Regions from separate parts of the Homo sapiens genome. Here regions 1, 2, 3, 4, 5 and 6 are each linked to region 7. Evidence: promoter capture Hi-C in 16 types of primary human blood cells and fetal thymus (Javierre and others, 2016). All regions are on one chromosome and are shown on one strand. Each heading gives the region's core, a stretch centred on a gene start or on the middle of the fragment in contact. The rest is flanking DNA. Distances are from core to core; before and after follow the strand shown.

What was found. The method cuts DNA at HindIII sites, captures the fragments that hold promoters and counts their contacts. A CHiCAGO score of 5 or more calls a contact.
Region 1: a contact is called between the fragment with the promoter of TPT1 here and the fragment with the promoter of UFM1 in region 7, in 1 of 17 cell types (total CD8 T cells). The highest score is 5.8, in total CD8 T cells.
Region 2: a fragment that was not itself captured here is called in contact with the fragment with the promoter of UFM1 in region 7 in 1 of 17 cell types (total CD4 T cells); the score reaches 5.1 in total CD4 T cells.
Region 3: the fragment with the promoter of ZC3H13 here is called in contact with the fragment with the promoter of UFM1 in region 7 in 1 of 17 cell types (non-activated CD4 T cells); the score reaches 5.4 in non-activated CD4 T cells.
Region 4: a contact is called between a fragment that was not itself captured here and the fragment with the promoter of UFM1 in region 7, in 1 of 17 cell types (total CD8 T cells). The highest score is 8.3, in total CD8 T cells.
Region 5: a contact is called between the fragment with the promoter of LRCH1 here and the fragment with the promoter of UFM1 in region 7, in 1 of 17 cell types (non-activated CD4 T cells). The highest score is 5.5, in non-activated CD4 T cells.
Region 6: a fragment that was not itself captured here is called in contact with the fragment with the promoter of UFM1 in region 7 in 1 of 17 cell types (non-activated CD4 T cells); the score reaches 6.8 in non-activated CD4 T cells.

What each region holds. Positions count from the first base shown.
Region 1 is chr13:45,339,912-45,342,611 of GRCh38, reverse strand. TPT1 (tumor protein, translationally-controlled 1) reads left to right here and starts at 1,429. Exons shown (of 6, transcript NM_003295.4): 1 at 1,429-1,570; 2 at 1,827-1,900; 3 at 2,428-2,618. The coding sequence starts at 1,543. TPT1-AS1 (TPT1 antisense RNA 1) reads right to left here and starts at 1,267. Exons shown (of 11, transcript NR_024458.1): 1 at 1,225-1,267. LOC124903169 (a long non-coding RNA gene) reads right to left here and starts at 1,178. Exons shown (of 2, transcript XR_007063781.1): 1 at 982-1,178. RefSeq lists silencers at 1,053-1,252, 1,413-1,522, 1,603-1,672 and an enhancer at 1,570-2,359. The HindIII fragment of the contact is 2,255 bases long and covers 680-2,700 here.
Region 2 is chr13:31,173,544-31,176,243 of GRCh38, reverse strand. No RefSeq gene overlaps it. Among named protein-coding and RNA genes, the nearest start is that of HSPH1, 13 kb to the right of the region's middle. The HindIII fragment of the contact is 3,215 bases long and covers 1-2,700 here.
Region 3 is chr13:46,051,399-46,054,098 of GRCh38, reverse strand. ZC3H13 (zinc finger CCCH-type containing 13) reads left to right here and starts at 1,353. Exons shown (of 19, transcript NM_001330564.2): 1 at 1,353-1,695. CPB2 (carboxypeptidase B2) reads left to right here. Exons shown (of 11, transcript NM_001872.5): 11 at 301-913. The coding sequence ends at 485. It overlaps CPB2-AS1 (CPB2 antisense RNA 1), which reads right to left and starts at 1,251. Exons shown (of 3, transcript NR_046227.1): 1 at 1,134-1,251. RefSeq lists enhancers at 1,188-1,387, 1,398-1,567, 1,097-1,632, 1,633-2,169. The HindIII fragment of the contact is 2,282 bases long and covers 438-2,700 here.
Region 4 is chr13:46,792,739-46,795,438 of GRCh38, reverse strand. It overlaps ESD (esterase D), which reads left to right. Exons shown (of 10, transcript NM_001984.2): 2 at 1,995-2,042. Among named protein-coding and RNA genes, the nearest start is that of ESD, 3.1 kb to the left of the region's middle. The HindIII fragment of the contact is 765 bases long and covers 1,012-1,776 here.
Region 5 is chr13:46,551,862-46,554,561 of GRCh38, reverse strand. It overlaps LRCH1 (leucine rich repeats and calponin homology domain containing 1), which reads right to left and starts at 1,392. Exons shown (of 20, transcript NM_001164211.2): 1 at 859-1,392. The coding sequence starts at 1,165. RefSeq lists enhancers at 259-578, 235-935 and silencers at 1,139-1,198, 1,259-1,448. The HindIII fragment of the contact is 3,547 bases long and covers 1-2,547 here.
Region 6 is chr13:31,202,384-31,205,083 of GRCh38, reverse strand. All of the region lies in intron 1 of B3GLCT (beta 3-glucosyltransferase), which reads right to left. Among named protein-coding and RNA genes, the nearest start is that of B3GLCT, 3.8 kb to the right of the region's middle. The HindIII fragment of the contact is 1,394 bases long and covers 686-2,079 here.
Region 7 is chr13:38,348,501-38,351,200 of GRCh38, reverse strand. It overlaps UFM1 (ubiquitin fold modifier 1), which reads right to left and starts at 1,350. Exons shown (of 6, transcript NM_016617.4): 1 at 1,280-1,350; 2 at 1,146-1,202. The coding sequence starts at 1,281. RefSeq lists silencers at 799-1,013, 1,711-1,820 and an enhancer at 1,391-1,600. The HindIII fragment of the contact is 2,541 bases long and covers 1-1,772 here.

The DNA of each region.
Region 1 (2,700 bases), core at 180-2,679, 7.0 Mb before region 7:
AATTGTCTGATACTTTGATTTACCAGAATGAACACTTCTATAAGTAGGACTGGATCGAACTTGTTCACAATTGGAATCTTGGTGCAAATCCTAGTTCTAAGGGATACAAAGCACAAAATATTTGCGAAATAGAACAAGCTTTCAGACTTCATACTGGCATGTATCTTTGCCTTATGCCAAAGATGTGACGATGTGACTAAATACGGAAGTTTTGTTTTGCTATTGAGCCAAGGTCTTGCTCTGTCATTCAGGCTGGAGCGCAGTGGTGCAATCATAGCTCAGTGTAACCTCCAACTCCCGGGCTCAAGCGATCCTCCCAGCTCAGCCTCCCTAATAGCTGGGATTACAGGCAGGCACCACCGCACCCAATTAATTTTTAATTTGTGTGTGTGTGTGTGTGTGTAGAGACAGGGTTTCAGTAGTTGCCTCCCAAAGTTCTGGGATTACAGGCATGAGCTACCATGCAGGACCTGTTTTGTTTTAATACTTAGTAATTGGGTGTAAAGTCCTTCAAAAAACAGGTGGGGCAGGTGGGAAACTCCCTTTGTGTGACCCTCTAGCACCAGGGATAAAATTTCAACTTCATCTTAAAGCGACAACATACTTTTCCAAGACCAAGTGCGAAATAGTAAAGGGAAGAGCTAGCTCCGTAGCCGTCCGCCACAGAATGCCACAAGCTTTCAATTATGGGACAAAATTGGAACACATGGAAACCCTGTGCAGACTCCCGTGACATCTTCCCTCCTCTCCAAGTCCCTTCCCACAGACCTTGCGCCCCACACGATTATTCCCCAGGGGCCGAGCAGGACGACTTGGGTCCCACTATCCGGACTCAGCGGTGCCCCCACAAAAGCGTCCCAAAAACTCCAGCTGGGGCAGCCCTGGGGCAGATGCTGAAAAGTTGTCAGAGGCCCTCGGGCAGTCCCGAGATCTACCCCAGGCCAGAGGGCCTGACCCTCCCTAAATGCGACGTTCTCCTACCTTGGTTGATACTCACGTTCCCAGAAAAGGGTGGAACCTAGGCTGGACGAGGCGCAGGGCCAAAGTTTAATTCCTCTAAGCTCCACCCAGCTCCCAGCACCTCTCCAGGCGGCCCCGTGGGGTAGGGCGGAGCCGGGTCCAACGTACTCCGCTTCCCCCGCTCCACCCACCCAGGGCTAGGGAGCGCCCCGAGAGTTGGCCTCCTCCCACGCTGCGCGCGCACCTCCCCGCCCCCACCCCTACCCGCTGGCGTGCCCAGTGGAACGGAGCCTTGTGTCTCCGCCTCAAGTCCCCGGATGCTCACCTCCCCGACTCGCCCCCGCTGTGGCCCCGCCCCCGCGCGGCTCTTCGTGCCACGTCACCGCCTGCGTCGCTTCCGGAGGCGCAGCGGGCGATGACGTAGAGGGACGTGCCCTCTATATGAGGTTGGGGAGCGGCTGAGTCGGCCTTTTCCGCCCGCTCCCCCCTCCCCCCGAGCGCCGCTCCGGCTGCACCGCGCTCGCTCCGAGTTTCAGGCTCGTGCTAAGCTAGCGCCGTCGTCGTCTCCCTTCAGTCGCCATCATGATTATCTACCGGGACCTCATCAGCCGTGAGTCCTCACTGCACTATCCTTACTGCCGCACACGGGGGTCTGGGGTGCGGGTGGGGGCGGGGAAGGCGCAGCCGTCGCGGGCCTAGGGGACGCCGGCGGTCTTAGCCGAGCGCGGAGGGGTCGGTGCCCGGGGCTCGCGCCCAGCTCTGGTGTGCTACGGAGGGGCAGATCCCGCGTGCGGCCGCCGGCGCGGGAAATGCGGGAAATGGCGGCGCCAGGCGCACGGTGATGGGCGGCTCTGTGTATCCGGCAGACGATGAGATGTTCTCCGACATCTACAAGATCCGGGAGATCGCGGACGGGTTGTGCCTGGAGGTGGAGGGGAAGGTGAGTCGGTCGGGCCTGCGCGTGGGGGAGTCCGGGCCGAGCGGGCTCGGGTTTCCTCCGCTCCCCCGCCTGAGGTTGTGCAATCCTCCCCGCCGCCTCCTGGCGGAGGAGACGCTCTTTCCGGGCTTGGGTTTTTCTAGAAAACTGGAGGCGGAGCTGATCCTGGAAATAGGCCCGCCGCCTCGGCGCCCATCCTCCTCCCGGGGTTGTCCGGGACATGATGCTTCCGGCTTAGGAGCCTGGAGTCCTTTCGTGTTTGTCCTGTCCCCACTTACCAACCGGAGGCATCACATGCCCGCAACTGGAAACAACTTTTTAATGACCCCATTTTTTGTTCCGGCCAACAGACAACTCTTTTAAGTTAGGTCGTTTTGAGAAATCCACGGGTCACAACTTTATTCCCAAAATGGTGCTTTTTTTATTTTCAGCAAGAACTAAGAATACTTCTTATCCGTGAACTATTGGCGTGGAAGGTGCTTTGGATGCGTTTGTGTCTTTTGCAATTATACTGCTTTTTCTTAATGCAGATGGTCAGTAGGACAGAAGGTAACATTGATGACTCGCTCATTGGTGGAAATGCCTCCGCTGAAGGCCCCGAGGGCGAAGGTACCGAAAGCACAGTAATCACTGGTGTCGATATTGTCATGAACCATCACCTGCAGGAAACAAGTTTCACAAAAGAAGCCTACAAGAAGTACATCAAAGATTACATGAAATCGTAAGTGATACTGGCAGTACCTAGCTGATGTCTAGAATCTTACAGGATTTAAAGATTGGCTAACTTTTGAGGTTCTTTCGCA
Region 2 (2,700 bases), core at 134-2,633, 7.2 Mb after region 7:
GCCAACTTTTCTTATTACAAACACTTTCCAGAGACCTGTAGTTCACAGTTTAAAGTCAAACACACTCTACATGCAGTTAATCCTCATTTCATCCAGTCAGTCACCTTCTCTGCCCCAACTGGCCTCCAGATTCATTTCTGTGGGCTGCTCACCCTCTGCTGGTCTCAGCGCAGCCCTCTGACAATATTTAGCAGCTTGGTCTCAATTACCAGGGAGATTGAGCAACTGAAGGCTGAAGGCCCCACGGGATAGGAGAGCCTCTTAGGGCTGGACTCACCACCTAAGGCTGCTTTCAGACCCCTCCAGGGCCACTTTACCAGAGGCAGGTTAGTGATCTGCTCTGTGTGAGATCAGACGTGAGGACTGTCCCACCCAGAATCCTGAAGCCTCACCCCATCCCATCTCCATACCTTTTTTTTTTTTTTTTTGACAAGGAGTCTCACTCTGTCGCCCAGGCTGGAGTGCAGTGGCACGATCTCGGCTCAGTGCAAGCTCTGCCTCCTGGGTTCGCGCCATTCTCCTGCCTCAGCCTCCCAAGCAGCTGGGACCACAGGCGCCCACCACCACACCTGGCTTTTTTTTTTTTTTTTTGTATTTTTAGTAGAGATGGAGTTTCACCATGTTAGCCAGGATGGTTTCGATCTCCTGATCTCGTGATCCGCCCACCTTGGCCTCCCAAAGTGCTGGGATTACAGGCGTGAGCCATCGCGCCCAGCTAACTTGCTCTCCTAATAGAACAAAAATTGTGCCCCATTCACCAGGGCTTACTTGTCAGAGATTTTGTGGCTTAGGCTCTGCTTTAAATAAGAAATTATTTAAAGCACTTTGTCCTGTTTTCTCACATTGCCTGCGTCCCCACCCACCACCTCTGTGGCTCCCAGTCTGCTGAGGACAGTGCCCCTTCCCCTTCACTTTTCCTCCCCGTTTGATCAAGCAAGGGTTTTGGTCATTAATACCCGGCCCTACCATTTACTGGTTGTCCTCAGGGAAGTTATTTAATCCAACTGAGCCTTACTTTCATTTGCAGAATGGGGATGATAATAGAAGGTACCTATCTAAGAGGAACCTTGGGAGGTGATGTAAGACATTCATGGCACCCAGCACTGTGCTGAGGTGCTCAGTAAGTGAAAATCCCTTCTCGCCAGCTGTCATGGGCGTTATTTTTTCTGCCTGCCTGGCATGTCTGTGAGGCACCATCCCTGCCCATTCTGCAGTAATGCTGGGGGCCTGGTGGTTTGATTCTCCATCATCCTCACCAGTAGCTTGGGCAGATAGCTCTGCACAGTGACTTCAGGTACCAGGTCACACTCACTGGCTCTTCTCTTCCCTTCTTCTACTTTTTTTTTTTTTTTGAGACATAGTCTCCCTCTGTAGCCCAGGCTGAAGTGCAGTGGCACAATCTTGGCTCACTGCAACCTCCACCTCCCAGGTTCAAGTGATTCTTCTGCCTCAGCCTCCCAAGTAGCTCGGATTACAGGCATGCACCACCATGCCCAGCTAATTTTTGTGTTTTTAGCAGATGGGGTTTCACCATGTTGGCCAGGCTGGTCTTGAACTCCTGACCTCAAGTGATCTGCCACCTCGGCCTCCCAAAGTGCTGGGATTACAGGCATGAGCCACCATGCCCAGTCTCTTTGTGACTTTCTTACGGTAAGAACTATGTTACTCTGGAGCTGCAAGGTCTGCCTTTGCCCCTACATAAGGAAGGCCCATCTGAGAAGGGAAGCAACGCAGAGCAGAGTTTAGCTGAGAGATGGGCAGAGAGAAAGTCCTGAGGATGTCACTTGAGCTCCTGGATATGGCTGAGCCTAAACTAGATGCCCCCTAAAACTTCCAAATTATGTGGATCAGTAAATTCCCATTTTTGTTTTGTTGGTTGGCTGATTTTTTTGTTGTTGTTGCCTGCAACTGCAAAAATCCAAACTAATATACTGTTTTTCCCTGCCCTGGTTCGTAACTTTGACAGCTTGTGTAAGATTTTCATGAGTCTCTGGCTCCCCTGGGTGGCAAAGAGAATAAATTCACATTTCTAGGAGTCCCACTCTCTGCACTAGCATGCTCCTTTCTACAGTTTATTTATGTTTCGACTCCCCTAGTCTCAAACATACTTGTGTGTAATCTTAGCCCACAGATGTTTTGGCAGAAATTTCTTTTTCATGGTTATACTGCTTTTCTAGCTGTGGTGGTTCTGGGTCTGCAGTCGGTCAAATCTCATCCCTGGTCCTGCTTGGGGTGGCCATTGAATTGGGTTTGAGTCAGTGGTACAGTGAGTGGCCCAAGTTGGGGGGCAGTGGGTCACCCTCTTCTAGGAGCAGTCAGCGACACAAAACACCATCTTGGTATTATTAGAAGGTTGTACCAACCAGCTATAGGAACAAGCCCCAGTGCCAACATGATTTTAAAAGTCCTAGCCAGAGGAATTAGGCTCATCCAGATTATTCTGTCTGAGGAAGAACTGACTAGTTAGAAAAAAATTACAAGTCGATAGGTGTTTTCATGATGTAAGAATCTATTTAAGAACATGAAGGTGTGGCCATATTCGTTTTATTTTGTCATGATGAATATCCTGGGGAGCCATTGCTACTGCAAAAAGGTCCCTGGAACACTTACCAATCTTTTAGTACTCAGAGACTACCTGGAAACACGTCTTTAGTATGTGCCTTTCTGAGCTGGGCTCACCTATTACATCATTGTTGCTCA
Region 3 (2,700 bases), core at 104-2,603, 7.7 Mb before region 7:
CCCTGCTTGTGGAAGTATAAATGAATTCAGTTCTTTTGACGTCCATTTGGGAACATGCCGTAATTGCAAAAAGTACAGAGCCTTAGACTAGCAAATCTATTCTAGGGAAGAATATTCTAAAGAGACAAAGAAGCAATTATGTATAAACAAGGGTACTCATTGTAAAGTTGTTTATATTAGTTAAAAACTGAAAAAAATCTAAAGGTATACAAACAAATAAACATTTAAATCAAACAATTCCCAGTTTGTAAATTAATTTGAAACGTCTGTATTTCAACAATTTCTTTCTTCTTCTTTTAGACCTAGCTCCTGGAGGTGGGGACGATTGGATCTATGATTTGGGCATCAAATATTCGTTTACAATTGAACTTCGAGATACGGGCACATACGGATTCTTGCTGCCGGAGCGTTACATCAAACCCACCTGTAGAGAAGCTTTTGCCGCTGTCTCTAAAATAGCTTGGCATGTCATTAGGAATGTTTAATGCCCCTGATTTTATCATTCTGCTTCCGTATTTTAATTTACTGATTCCAGCAAGACCAAATCATTGTATCAAATTATTTTTAAGTTTTATCCGTAGTTTTGATAAAAGATTTTCCTATTCCTTGGTTCTGTCAGAGAACCTAATAAGTGCTACTTTGCCATTAAGGCAGACTAGGGTTCATGTCTTTTTACCCTTTAAAAAAAATTGTAAAAGTCTAGTTACCTACTTTTTCTTTGATTTTCGACGTTTGACTAGCCATCTCAAGCAAGTTTCGACGTTTGACTAGCCATCTCAAGCAAGTTTAATCAATGATCATCTCACGCTGATCATTGGATCCTACTCAACAAAAGGAAGGGTGGTCAGAAGTACATTAAAGATTTCTGCTCCAAATTTTCAATAAATTTCTGCTTGTGCCTTTAGAAATACAACCATGCATTCCGTTTGCTCCACGGTAATTAGGCGATGGCCCAGAAAGGGGAGGGGTGTCAAAAACGACAAACATAGCCTCTCATTCCAGCTCAGCTGCTCAATAAACACTGTTGAACGAATGAATGAGTGGCTCTAGGTACTGTCAACAAATGCCGCATTTTGCGCATTTACAACAGCTGTTTATGGTAAGGAATTATGTAATAAAAAGAGAAAACTCACTTAAATTCACTTTTAATTGGGAATTTTAGTTCTCCCGGGCTCCCAGTTTCCTTTCCTAGGATCTCTCACAGAGCACAGATTCGATTTCCAAGTCCCGCCGCACTCTTACCGCTCGCATGGAACCTTACGCCTAGAGGGCGTGTCCACGAAGGGTGGTGTCTGCGCACTGACGACTAATCTGACGGCCGGAAGCTGCCTGGGTCTACAGAGGAACAGGGCAAACCTCTGACTTCCGGCGGCATTTTGAGGCGGTCCTCCTAGCGGCCTGGTAGTGTTTTTGTTGCCTTTTCTTAATCTACAATCTCTTCGTTATTTTTCTTCCTGCGACCCAGTTTCGCTTGACCCTGGAGAGGCGGCGGGCGGGTTGGTTCTGCTTCTCAGCCATCCCGGGGGCTCCTCGCTAGCCAAGAGCCGGTTCCCGGGAGCCGCGCGCGCATCGCTTTCTCCTCGTCGTCGTCCTCCTGGGTCCAGGCGCGGGGACAGAGTCGCCTCCCCCGCTCCTCGGAGCGGCGGCGGCGGTGGTGCCTCCGGACTGCACTTGCGAAGGGAGCTTGGGGAGGAAGTAAGCGTTCTGTGAATTGGTGTGGGTATCTGGGGAAGGCATTGAGCGGACCCGTAATGCGGAGGCCCGGGTTACCCCCCCCCGTCTTTGCTTGAGTCACTGGGATTTTGAGCTTTCCTTGAGCATCCCACCCTTAACTCTGCAATAGCCCCCTGTGCTCAGGCGTAATTTCTCACTCTGATTATGATTCTGGCATTTGTCTAAGGGCGATAAGTAGACTCAGACAATAGGCTGTACCCCTCGTTACCATTTGATGTAAGCACGGGAACCCTTGTATGGTGTTCGTATTTGTGTGCGATGGAAGGGTGCAGCAATTTGGGCTTAAATTTAGAATCTTCCTCTATACTCATTCCAGATCTGTTAGAGAAAAACATCTTACTTGTGATTGGTCTTGTTTTTTTTTTTTTCCCTCAGCAGTGATAACGATTTAGGTCCTGGGAATTGAGTGCTACTTTATCTTCACAAGCCTTAGGTAGGTAGTTTTGGCAACTGTCAGAAACGGGGGAAAGTGGAATAGAAAGAAGAGAGTCTGTTTGGCGGCATTATCTCTCTGTAATAGGCTAACGCAATTTATGTGGTTTGAAAATTATTTAGAGTTGATAATACTTGAATTATGTTGGTAAGATGTTGTTTGTGAAGGGTAGTCTTAAGGTATTTGGTTATACTATGGGGCTTTCAGGTAATTCGAACTACTTTGAAAATTATGGGAGTATGAAGTCTCTTAAGATTTTTGGATTTTTAAAGTAGTTTTAAAAATTTGGAAAACATCTTTACACCTCAAGTTTTCGAAGTCCGCGATACCGTTGGAGAATAAATACTTATGCAGTTCAGTCTATGGGTATATGGTGCCAGTTAGCGGGGTCTAGTTCTGTAACATTTGAAATTACTGGCTTTAGTACAATATATTGGAGCGTTTTGTGAATACAATCTATAGATTTTCAAATAATTTTTATTTTCTTAATGAACTATTTAGATTATAACAGATGACAGTTTCAACTAGAGACT
Region 4 (2,700 bases), core at 145-2,644, 8.4 Mb before region 7:
TACTGAAATACACACTTAGGAATGGTTAAGATAGTAAATATTATGTATGTGTTTTTATCACAGTTTTTAAAATACTAAATAAAAATGACTAACAATTCCACGTAGGCCGTATTAGGCTGCAGATGAGCTGTTGGTAGGGATCCGTTGACCAGTAAATTAAGTGGATTAAAACCCTAGGCTTTCATGCAGGATTGATCGTAGTGGGATGTATTAGGAAGAAAGGAAGAGGCTAAGTTTTAATTTCTTATATATAATTAGGATGATGGCAGTGGGAATTCAAAAAGAAGGTAACTTTGAGGCATCTCAAATGTAGATTAGGCAAGACAGGCATGAGTCTGAAAAAGAGAGGCAATGAAAAGAGGAATGGTTTGAAGGTGAGATGCAGAAGCTTAATTTTAGGTGTGGTAAGTTTTAATAGCTGGTGACATGTCTTGGTAGAAGAGTCCAGCAAGAAATGTCATTATGGGTACTAATGCTTGAGAAAGATTGGTTATAGAGATGCAGATTTAGATTATTTCACCCAGAAAATGTAGTTGAAATTTAGGGAATGAGGTTTAGGGAAAGAGTGTGAAGAAAAAAGAAAAGGGAGGTGGGAGGAGACAGAGTGAAAGGGAAGAAGCCAGATCCTGAGTTTTCACTGAGAAGAGGATTTGAACAACACAGTGGTGGTCAACAGCAGTTATTGGAACTGTAGATTGTTGGTTTTGGGAACACCTGTCTAGGTTGTTAAGAGCCAGTGGAATAGGACATCCTGGAAATGAAGAAACATCAAAATCCAAGGAATCTGAGAGAATGGGAACAAAAAAACACATGTAGAGATTTATGGAAAACTTGAGACACAGGGGAAGAAGGATAAAAATAGAACTCAGATTTCTGGAGGTGGATGACATTTAACTTTAATAAGTAAAGGGCCCTGTCTCTACAAAAAATTAAAAAAAAAAATATTCCAGTGTGGTACGCACCTGTAGTCCTAGCTGCTCAGGAGGCTGAGGTAGGAGAACACTTGAAGCTTGGAGTTCTAGGTTACACTGAGTCATGATTATGCAACTGTACTACAACCTGGGCCACACAGCCAAGACCCCATCTCCAAAAAATAAAAAATAAAGGGAAGAACAGTAAGGTTTGACCTTTAGGGGAATGGATGTATTATGCACTGAGAGACCCTTTCTTCTCCAAAGAATGTTGATGTTCACTAACATTTGGGAAAAATTGTGTAACTCCCACTGGCACTGTGAAATTGTTTTTCTGTTTTTGTTGTTGTTGTTGTTGTTGTTGTTTTTTGGAGGGGAAGGAGGAAGGGTGTTGTTTGGTTTTTTGGTATTCCACCCTACTCTGTCACCCTATTTCTCCCACAAAATCTGTTCTAGAACCTAAATATATATTTGTTCTAGAGCCTAAATGAAATCTACCAGATAAGTGACATGATATATACTATGTAAGTTTCCATATATATTTTTCTTACTGAATATCAGTCACTTCATCGTTCATAAGCCCACTTTTCTTATACATCCTTTCTAGTCACCCTAGTAGTAGTCCTTCAGTCCTCATCTCTTCCCTTCTTTCTCCCCATGTTACAAGTTCGACTTACAACTGAGCCAGATAGATCCATCTTCCTCTACTTACCTAGTCCCCACTCTTATTTTCTTCACTCAGGAGTTGACTACATCTCATGCTTCGAAATTACACTTGAAAACTTTGTTTATTGATTTAAAAAGATAAAAAACTTTCATAGTACTTTTACTTCAGCAGATGGTTTTGACCAAGTACCAACAAGCTTTATGGCAAAATAGGTATTAAGGTGGCCTGTGGCAAATAATTAGATTATGGGCAATTAAGGTAATTAAGTGGTGATGTGGTATCCCATCAGGGTGTACAGTCATTTACCTCAAAAGAAGAAAACATCTCTATTGAGAATGCATATGCATATAAAAGCTCTGTATAACCTTTGCTGTGAAAAGTATATCCCATTTGTAAACCATTGGTGTTTTTTTCAGAATCGCCTACCATTTGGTGCAAGCAAAAAGCAATCAGCAATTGGACAGGTAAACTTGTTTTATTGTTTATATGTTACTCTGAACATTGAATGAAAATACCACTAATAGCTTGTTTTAAAACGTGCTATTTTTCACATAGAAAAATTCTATTGAAAAATATAACCACCTATTATAATGTATCAGATATCATAGTATATCACAGTATGTCATATCTAGTTCTTAGTTTATGTCATATTTCTTGTTAAGCCTAACATATTTTTTTGATTTGTAATTAAAGATAGTTTCTAAAATGGTGGGTAGAAAAAATACTTTAAAAGCTTTGTTTTTTAAAAAATATTCTACCAACTTTTAAAAAGTGTTTTAATCTTGTTTCTTCTGGCCAAATGAAAAGCATTTGATTTTGAATTTTAAGAGCAGAGAAAACTGACAACTTGAGGTTTATTAAAATAGACGAATAGCAAAGATACAGACTCCTATGTACCAGATACGTGCTCAGTGTACCATCTTTTGCAAAGTGGATATAGTCCTTTCTAAGTTTAAGAAAATCTGGTTTCCTTGTGGAATAATGGAGCAAATAAATTTTATTTGTTGGTCTCATATATATGTATTAATATATTAAAATTAGTATCTCTCTCTATAAGTTCATTATTTAAGATAGGATTGTTAACAGTAGCTAAAGTTAATATTCAGTAACTAATAACATCTC
Region 5 (2,700 bases), core at 143-2,642, 8.2 Mb before region 7:
AACTTGCCGGGCTCACACAGGAAAACAGGCTCACGTTAATTACTTTGCCTTTAATATGCCACGCCGTCCTTTCCTGGGGCCCCCGCAACGGTTGGGTAACTGAGAACCAGGTAGCCTCGGTGGTAGGACCCAAACTGTGTGGGCGGTGAGCAAAAGGCACGGAAGGAAGAGGGCCGATCGCTTCCGAAGCGGCAGCCGACTGGGATTCACTACAAGCCCGGCGGCTCTTTTCCCGCACAAGCGCAGGGAGAGGAAACTTGGGCACCTCACAGGCGGCACCGAGTTGCCCGATCGCTCGGCGATGTCGCCGAGGGGGCTCGCGGCACTGCGCCGATGCCCCTGGCTCGGCCGAGGGCGTGCCACCTTTGTCTGGGTTTCCCCACCAGGATGGGCTACGCCTCGATGCAAAGACGGCTTGAACTGGTTGGAGGCGCCGACGCCGCTGTCCGCGCTGGAGTTCCCAGCCCTGCGCGGGGCCCAGGAAGCCGACACAGCCGCCTGAAACCTCCCACTTACACTGCGCGCACGCGGCGCGCCTGCAAGTCCCAGCCCCGCGGTTACTTCCCTGGCGCGGCAGCCACAGGGTGGAGAGCCGGAGACCCCTCGCTCTCAGGCGCAGAGGCCCGGCGCACCCCTGCCCTCCTGGCACTGCATCGCCGGACCAGGCAGGGCCCCCGTGCCCTCTCCAGGGCCCGCTTCTTCCGCGCCCACGCGAGTCCCTTCTTCGGGAGACAACGGGCCGATGGACCCTCCCTCCCCCAGCAAGACAAGATCTCCGACTGTCCACCGCGTTAGGGAACGCACGACAGACACCCAGACAGCACCCACACCCCTGCCCGCCCCTCGGCCCTCACTCACCTGCCTGCACCGTGTCCGAGAGGTCGTGCCCGGGGGCTGCGGTACGGGGAAATTCCTTCAATTTCCTGGCGCTCAGGTTCAGCCCCCCGGAGTTGGCCGCCTCCTCAAGCGCGCGCTCCAGACCCCGGTTCAAGGGCAGGTTGAAGCCCCCGCTGCCACCGCCGCCACCACCCGCCCCGCCGGGGGCGCCGGTTCCTCCGTGGTGCTGATGGTGGTGGTGGTGGTGGTGGGGATGATGAAGTGGGTGCAGAGTAGCTACCGAAAGGGCCGGGACGAAAGGTTGGGGTTCGCTTCCCGGCGTCGCCATCTTCTCCCGGGCCCCCCCACCCCGCCCCGCCGCTCCTGCGGGGGGGTCACAGCGTTCCCCGCGAGGGGAAAACGGCAGCTCGGGCTGAGTGCCGCAGTGCTCCACCGAAAGGCGCTGGAAGGAGGGGAGGAGGGTGTGGGCAGGCGCGTAGAATGGGGGGCGGGCGGGGAGGCGGCCGTGGCAGCTCGGTCTTGAAGGTTTCCTGTCCCCGGGAAGCTAAGGACTGCGGCGGCGGCGGCGGCGGCGGCAGCGCGCATGTGTCTCCTCCCGCCCCTGCGCCCTCCCCCCGGCTGCTCTGCCCTCCTCCGCCGTCTGCTCTCTCCTCCTCCTTCCCCCACGCAGTCTGCCCCGCCTGAGCCTTCCTCCGCGCCTATTCTGCCGGCCGCCGCCGCCTTGCCGCGATCCGCCCCGCAATCGGGTACACGGCGGGGCTGGACGTCTGCTCCGGGGCAACTGAGGCGCCGAACCTCTCTCTGGGCGTCCTTTTGCCGCCCAGGAGGCTTTAGGGGACTGGAGGTTGCGGGGATAGGGGGGTGGTCTGAGAACACGGATAAAACGGCGGGAGGCAATGAATGGGATTTACAGTACAGTGAGGTTTGGGGCAGGAGAGGGTTCTCTCAATTCTGCGATTTATTCTGGCCGTTTAACCCAGAGATCCCCAAGAGGCAGTTTTCATTCACTATGGGGTCATCCCTGCAGATGCCCCCTGGCATTTGGGCGCTTACAATGAACCAGACGCTTGTTTAGGGAGTCTACGTAAGTTACCTCATTAATCCAGGGACCCCAGGAGTGCCAAAGTTGTTCCCCTGAGTCTACAGAGGAAGTTAATAAATGTATCTAAGGTCACCCCTGCAGTTAGAGGGGCGCTAGATTCGAGCTAGGGCCCTCAGAATCTAGGGTTGCCCTCCTTCACAGTGTACCCCTGGGCCAGACGCCAGCGCCAAGGGACGAATACGAGTGGGACAGAGTGTTTGCTGAGCGGCAGAAGAAAGCTACAGACATAGGAAAGAAAAACTCAAAATGAGGGCAGTGTTTATGGGGGACAGAAGACATTGTCGTAGGAGAAAGATGAGCTGGCTGCTCCCCGAAATTGGGTGGTGCCAGGAGAGGCTAGAAAGCCAGTGACCCCAAACAGCAAATCAGTCACAGCTCGAGTCTGAGCTGAAAGAACCATCGAAGTCTCCTTGTGCCCTTCTTCTTCCCGCTTTGGGGCATGGAAACGAACATGTCCGCTTGCAAGTGAATTCACATTCTGCCATCAGCCACCCAGTGGCACCCAGGCCAATGCTGGCACACCAGGGGCGACAGAGAACATCTGACACCCTAAGGGCAGACCAGCTGGACGATTAATAGAATACCATTCCTTTCCTGAAGTTAAAGCTTCATGTCCAACTTTCCAGGGCCTTTATTTTTGCTCTATTCTTAAGGCTTGATTGTCCCCTATGAGCGACTTGGCTTGGGGAAAATGAGTCGGGGGGTGGGTGCGGGGTTGTCGGGGTGTCAAGCACGAAAGTAATGCAACCCTTGGAGTAGGG
Region 6 (2,700 bases), core at 133-2,632, 7.1 Mb after region 7:
CTCAGCTTCACCTCCCCCTAAAATTAAAAGTCAAAGTACATTTCAAAAAATTGTGTAAGTACTTAATGCCATAGAACTATACACTTAAAATTCATTATACTTAATAAACTGTATGTTATGTACATTGAACCACATAAAACTGTTTTTAAAAACCTGGTCCTCCTCCTTCAGTGCCCAAGTTAGTAAACAGCACTACTACCCATGGTGGATGTGACAGAAATGTATGACTCATCCTTTCCCCCACCCTTTCTCCCAGCACACTGAACCTAATCAGTCCCAGAGTCTGAGAGATTATTAATCATCTCTCACAACCTGTGTCCAGCAGCCTCCTCACAGTTCCCTATATCCACAATGGCCCCCTCCAACTCCTGCTCCATCAGACAGCCAGAGTGAGTTTCAGGAAACGGCAGCCATATCACATACTGCCCCACTACAGCCCTTCAAACACTTCCCTCTGCTCTAAGGATGACCCCAAAATATGTCCCCTGATCTGCAAGGCCCTACCCAACCTGGCCCCTAATGATCTTGCCAGCCCTTCAGTCCTCCGTCCTTTCTCCACTTGGCTCCTTCACCACCAAGCTCTGCCACCCACTTACCTGATTTCTGCTTCCCTTTCGGGTCTGAGCTCTAACGTCACATCCTCTAGGAAGCCTTCCTTGACCCTTACCCCACAGTTTCTCAAGCTTGCCACTGTTGGCATTTTGGATCCGATAATTAATTGTTCGATGGTGGGGTGGAACTGTCCTGTGCCTTTGTAGGATGTTCAGCAGCACCCCTGACTCTAGATGTCAGTAGCACCCTCTGCCAAACCAGCCCCTGGGATAACCAAAAAGTATCCAGACAGCAACAAACGTTCCCTGGGGTGCAAGATGGCTCCCTGTTGAGATCCATCTCCCCAGTCTAGGCAAAAGCCATCTATCTCCCTGCAGCATGTTCTCACAGCATCCTGAACATCTCTTCCACAGCATTTGGCACAGACACGATTCATTCTGTAGTCATTACTGCTTAACATCACCTTGCCTTTCGGGCTGCAAGCTCCCCAAGGGTAGAGACAGACTAGATCTGTCTTGTTCCTGCAATATCACGATGCCTGACACACAGTAGGTACCCACATTACTCTGAATAAATGAGAGGCTTTGGGCAGTTTTTCTTTTTAACACTATTTTTAAATTGACATTCTTCTAGTAGTTCAAGTCAACGCCTACGTTAAATCAGGTTTCTTTGGGAGTTGCTTAGTGACTAGAACTTTGAAATCATGGTAGTAAGGAAGAACTTCCTCAATAGGTCTGATGAACCCTTGAAACTCACAACTTTTCCTTTATCATGGAAAAGATGAGATTAACCTATGGGGACTCCCATATATTGTTCTTAAGAAGTAATCTGTGCAAAGCCAAAGATGGATCACACATAATGCTACAAGAGGAAAAACAGAACATTTGCAAATTTTCTCTAAGTAGTACCTTTATGCCTAAAAATTATGCTTGCTTGCTTGCTTCATAATGAGTCTAGTAAAACACACCAAAAAAACCTGGCTCCAAAAGAGCCAATTATAAGGAAGTGCTCAAATACCGAGCCCACAATGTTTGTCCCGCAGGAAGTTACCAAAGGGGTCAAAGCACCTCCTTCGAATTCACACTGCTATTTGAAACAGATGCTCTCCCTCCCTCCCACTGGCTTAGCTGTTGGCTACTGGCAAACTCCCCTGGGTCAAGTCCATGACCTGGGGAGCCATGCCAACTCGGAGGTCCTGGACTACCTGGATGACAAAGAATCCATCCAGAAGATTAAAATCTGTGCCAGTAATATCTGCATACTGCTTAAGAAATAAAGAGAAGGTTTTAAGAATCAAAAAACACAAAACAACCTGGAATTAGGTCTGACTCTTGGTGTCCTAAAATTTCTGACTCATTGCAATGAAAGGAATCTGGGCAAGACCTGGCTCAGAATGAAAAACCATCCCCAATTTTGGCAGGTGCTAAGAAATACAAAGTTGGCTCACACAGGGAAGTGACAGACAGGCATGTGAAAAATAAAAGCTAATACCTATTATTTTATCAATATCATTGGTTCGAATAAGCTTCTTCTATCAATTAGGATTAGGTTTGGCAATAGGATTAGGTTTGGCTGCATATAATCTCATGCAATACAAGTCTGCAAACAGGAAATGCAGAGCTGACATGATGCTCCACATCCATCTGGCATCCAGGCTTCTTCTATCTTTCTCTTCTACCATCCTTACTACTGGCTTCCATCTTCAAGGTCACCTCATGGTCACAAGATGGCCACCATGGCTCCATCCCTCAGATCCACTTAATAGGCAATGGGAAGGAGGATAACACAGAGCAAAAAGGCCTGCATCCCAGCTGAGTCAGCCACCTTGAATGAGCTTTACCAGGAGCCCCACCAAACAATCTCTAAAGATATCTCTGTAGAGCACTAGCTGCCCCTATATGCAAAGGCCACTGAGAAATGTCTCACAGTGCTGCTGCCACCGCTGCCACCACCACCCCACCATCCTTCCCCCCAACCCAGATTATATTAGTTTTGTTAGGAAAACAAGGGCTAAAGGGTTACTTCGCAGGTGGCTGTCAATCTCTGCTACAACGGGATCAGTATGTTAAAACTGTAAGAGGTGGCAAAGTGCTAGTATTCTATCCAGTCCATTCGCCCTGTTCATATGAGAAAACTGAAGCTCAAAGC
Region 7 (2,700 bases), core at 101-2,600:
GGAGAGACAGGGCCACCAGAGTTGAGGGTGTTTGCATGAGAATGATTTAAAGGTGGACCAATGGACTCTTAACTATATAAGGAGTAAGGTAAGGAATAGAAGTGGGGATAGCTACAGATAAAAAATCACTGTGATTAATGGATTAAATGAAACGTTGTAGATGAGAAATTATAGTAAATCATGTAGGAGAGAATGTATTTATCCATAAGAGTGCCTGTAAACGACATCTCAGAGATGGAGCAATTATTGGAATCTTAAGGTTCTAGGCTGCAACCATGAACACCTGAGATAAAGTGTAACAGGGATATTTTGGAGATGAAAAGATCAAGGGAGGAAAAGGCTGAGAGGTTGTACGGATCATGGATTGGTAAATCATTGAAATTTATCAGTCAGCTAGGTAGGCCAAGGTACTAATTAATTATGCAAAAAATTCTATTGTAATCCTGTTCTTTGCTACATTTCATGCTACTTCCAACTGCAATAACCTCAAGAGTGTTTACTTAAAATCTATCACTCAACTGCGAAGGATAAGTAAAGGCCCCACATGGATAAACTATCCCCTATCTGCATTTCCCATTCCTACCAAATACTCTATTAAATCCCAGCATAGGAAGGGTGTGATCTGAGTCTCATTACTTTGTGATGCCCGACTGCTGAGTTACTCATACACAACGAAACTCAGAAGCCGCGGAATAACAAATGTTCAAGTAATTTCAAAGTCTTGACTATCAAGATGGAATGTCTTCCTTAACTTCCTCAACCAGCTGGCCAAAGCGGTGAAACGCTTTTCTAATATCCAGCAGATGGGGACTGTTTAAGAATCCCAACAAATTACCAGAACCTGGTCCACCTGTCCTCCCGCGCCACCTGCCCACCAAATGAATTCCGAGGGGAGGTCACTAATCAGAAACACACCCACACCCTCGTGACGGGGCCAAGCTGCCAAGCTGACACTTAGCGAGCAAGTACGGACCTCTCCTCGCAGGCTCCGGTGGGAAAGGCTCCTGGAAGGGCGCGAGCCAGGAAAGTAGATGAAGTGAAGAGATGAAGACTGCGTGGGGTAGTTGTTGGAAAAGCTCGGATCATCCCCAACCCAGCCCCGTCTTGTCCGGCCCCAAAAGGCCCATCTCGGCCGAGCTACTCACACTTTGTACGGCAGCCGTGGGTCCGACGTCAGCGTGATCTTAAAGGAAACCTTCGACCTGAGGAAAAGAGCGGGAGAGAGTCAGGGTCGGGCAGCTGGACCAGGAATTATGGCAGTCGGTAAGCAAACACTTACATGGTGGTGCCGGAATGAATCCAGAACACACGACAACTCCGCGGGGGTAGCACGACTTCCTCTAGTGTGCTGGGGACCGCCCCGCTCCACTCACGTCCACGTCTCCCTCTGCAATCTGGGGACCTCCGAAGTTGTTGCTATCCAACGCACTGCCTGAAAATTGGCCCTAAGAGCTCATGCTAGATGGCGCTTTTAAATTACAAATATCTTGTGCTTTTGCGTTTATATATCTAAGAAAAAAGTATGGATTATATTTATAAGATATCTTTCTAACTTTGGTAATTTGCTACCATATTTTTAGTCAGGCAGAATAAGCGTGGGCATAGAGCGTAGGACCCTAGGTTCCAGTTGGCAGGTTGGGGCGGAAGTAAGGGTATGGGGTAGTCGGATGAAGAGCGAGATGGACTTGGGGCGAAGCTCGGGGCGAGGCCGGGGGCGGGGCTGGGGCGGACGCGCTCTAAAGTTTCTAAGGCAACCTGAGCGCGGAAAAGCTTAATTGGTGCTCCAGAAGCAGGAATTGTAACACTGCTTTATCATTAGTTTTCTTCCGTCTTTCCAGCAAACCAATCCTGTTATATCCTTTACATTTCTCATAGTTTCTCCTTCACGCTTTACTTTCCGATACTGATTTATAACTATTGAATTTCGGTTAAGTAAGAGAGCTATCAAGTACGAATTATCTATGCCAAGACTCCCGCTGGGGTGGGTGAGAAAAAATGAGGTTTCTACGTTTGGGGAACGTGGCGTCTAGTTGGGAAGACACATCTATGAACAGGAGATTTCAGTAATTTGTTATATGGTCTAATTAAACCAGTGCGCTGAGTTGCTAATCACTGACCACATTTATTCAATTTAACAACCAACTTTGAACCCTTTCTATTTGCCCGGCGCTAAGCTAAACTCTGGGGAATCCAAGATGAGTAAGGCAGGTAGGCGTCAACTCTCTAGGATCTAACATCCTGTGTAGTGATGACGGAAGAAAATTGTCCTCTAAACTTTATTACAGATCTAAACCTCTGTGTTTGGAAAATATGCGTCTGTCTCACAATGACTGAAATGCCCTTTTAAAACATTAGCATGAATAGACAAAGGAGGAAGCAGGTAGGCATTAAAATAATGGGGCAATCTAGTTGATCTTTAGAATATGCATCAGATTCTTAAGGAGAGATACTTAAGAGAGGAACCAGGAAGGAACTGTAGTAGGGATAATGGAGATCAAATTCATCTTTACAATAATTTTGCAGCCAACTGATCTTCTATGGTGACATTTCCCAGTGGAGAGAGTTCTGGTTCTGAGTAGGCAAGTAAGACTCCAACATTCTCATGACAGCCATCCTCACTTTTTAAAATAATGGTCTTACCATATATGTAGATGAAGCCAAATATTGATTGACAGATACAGGGATCAACAGTTACAGCCT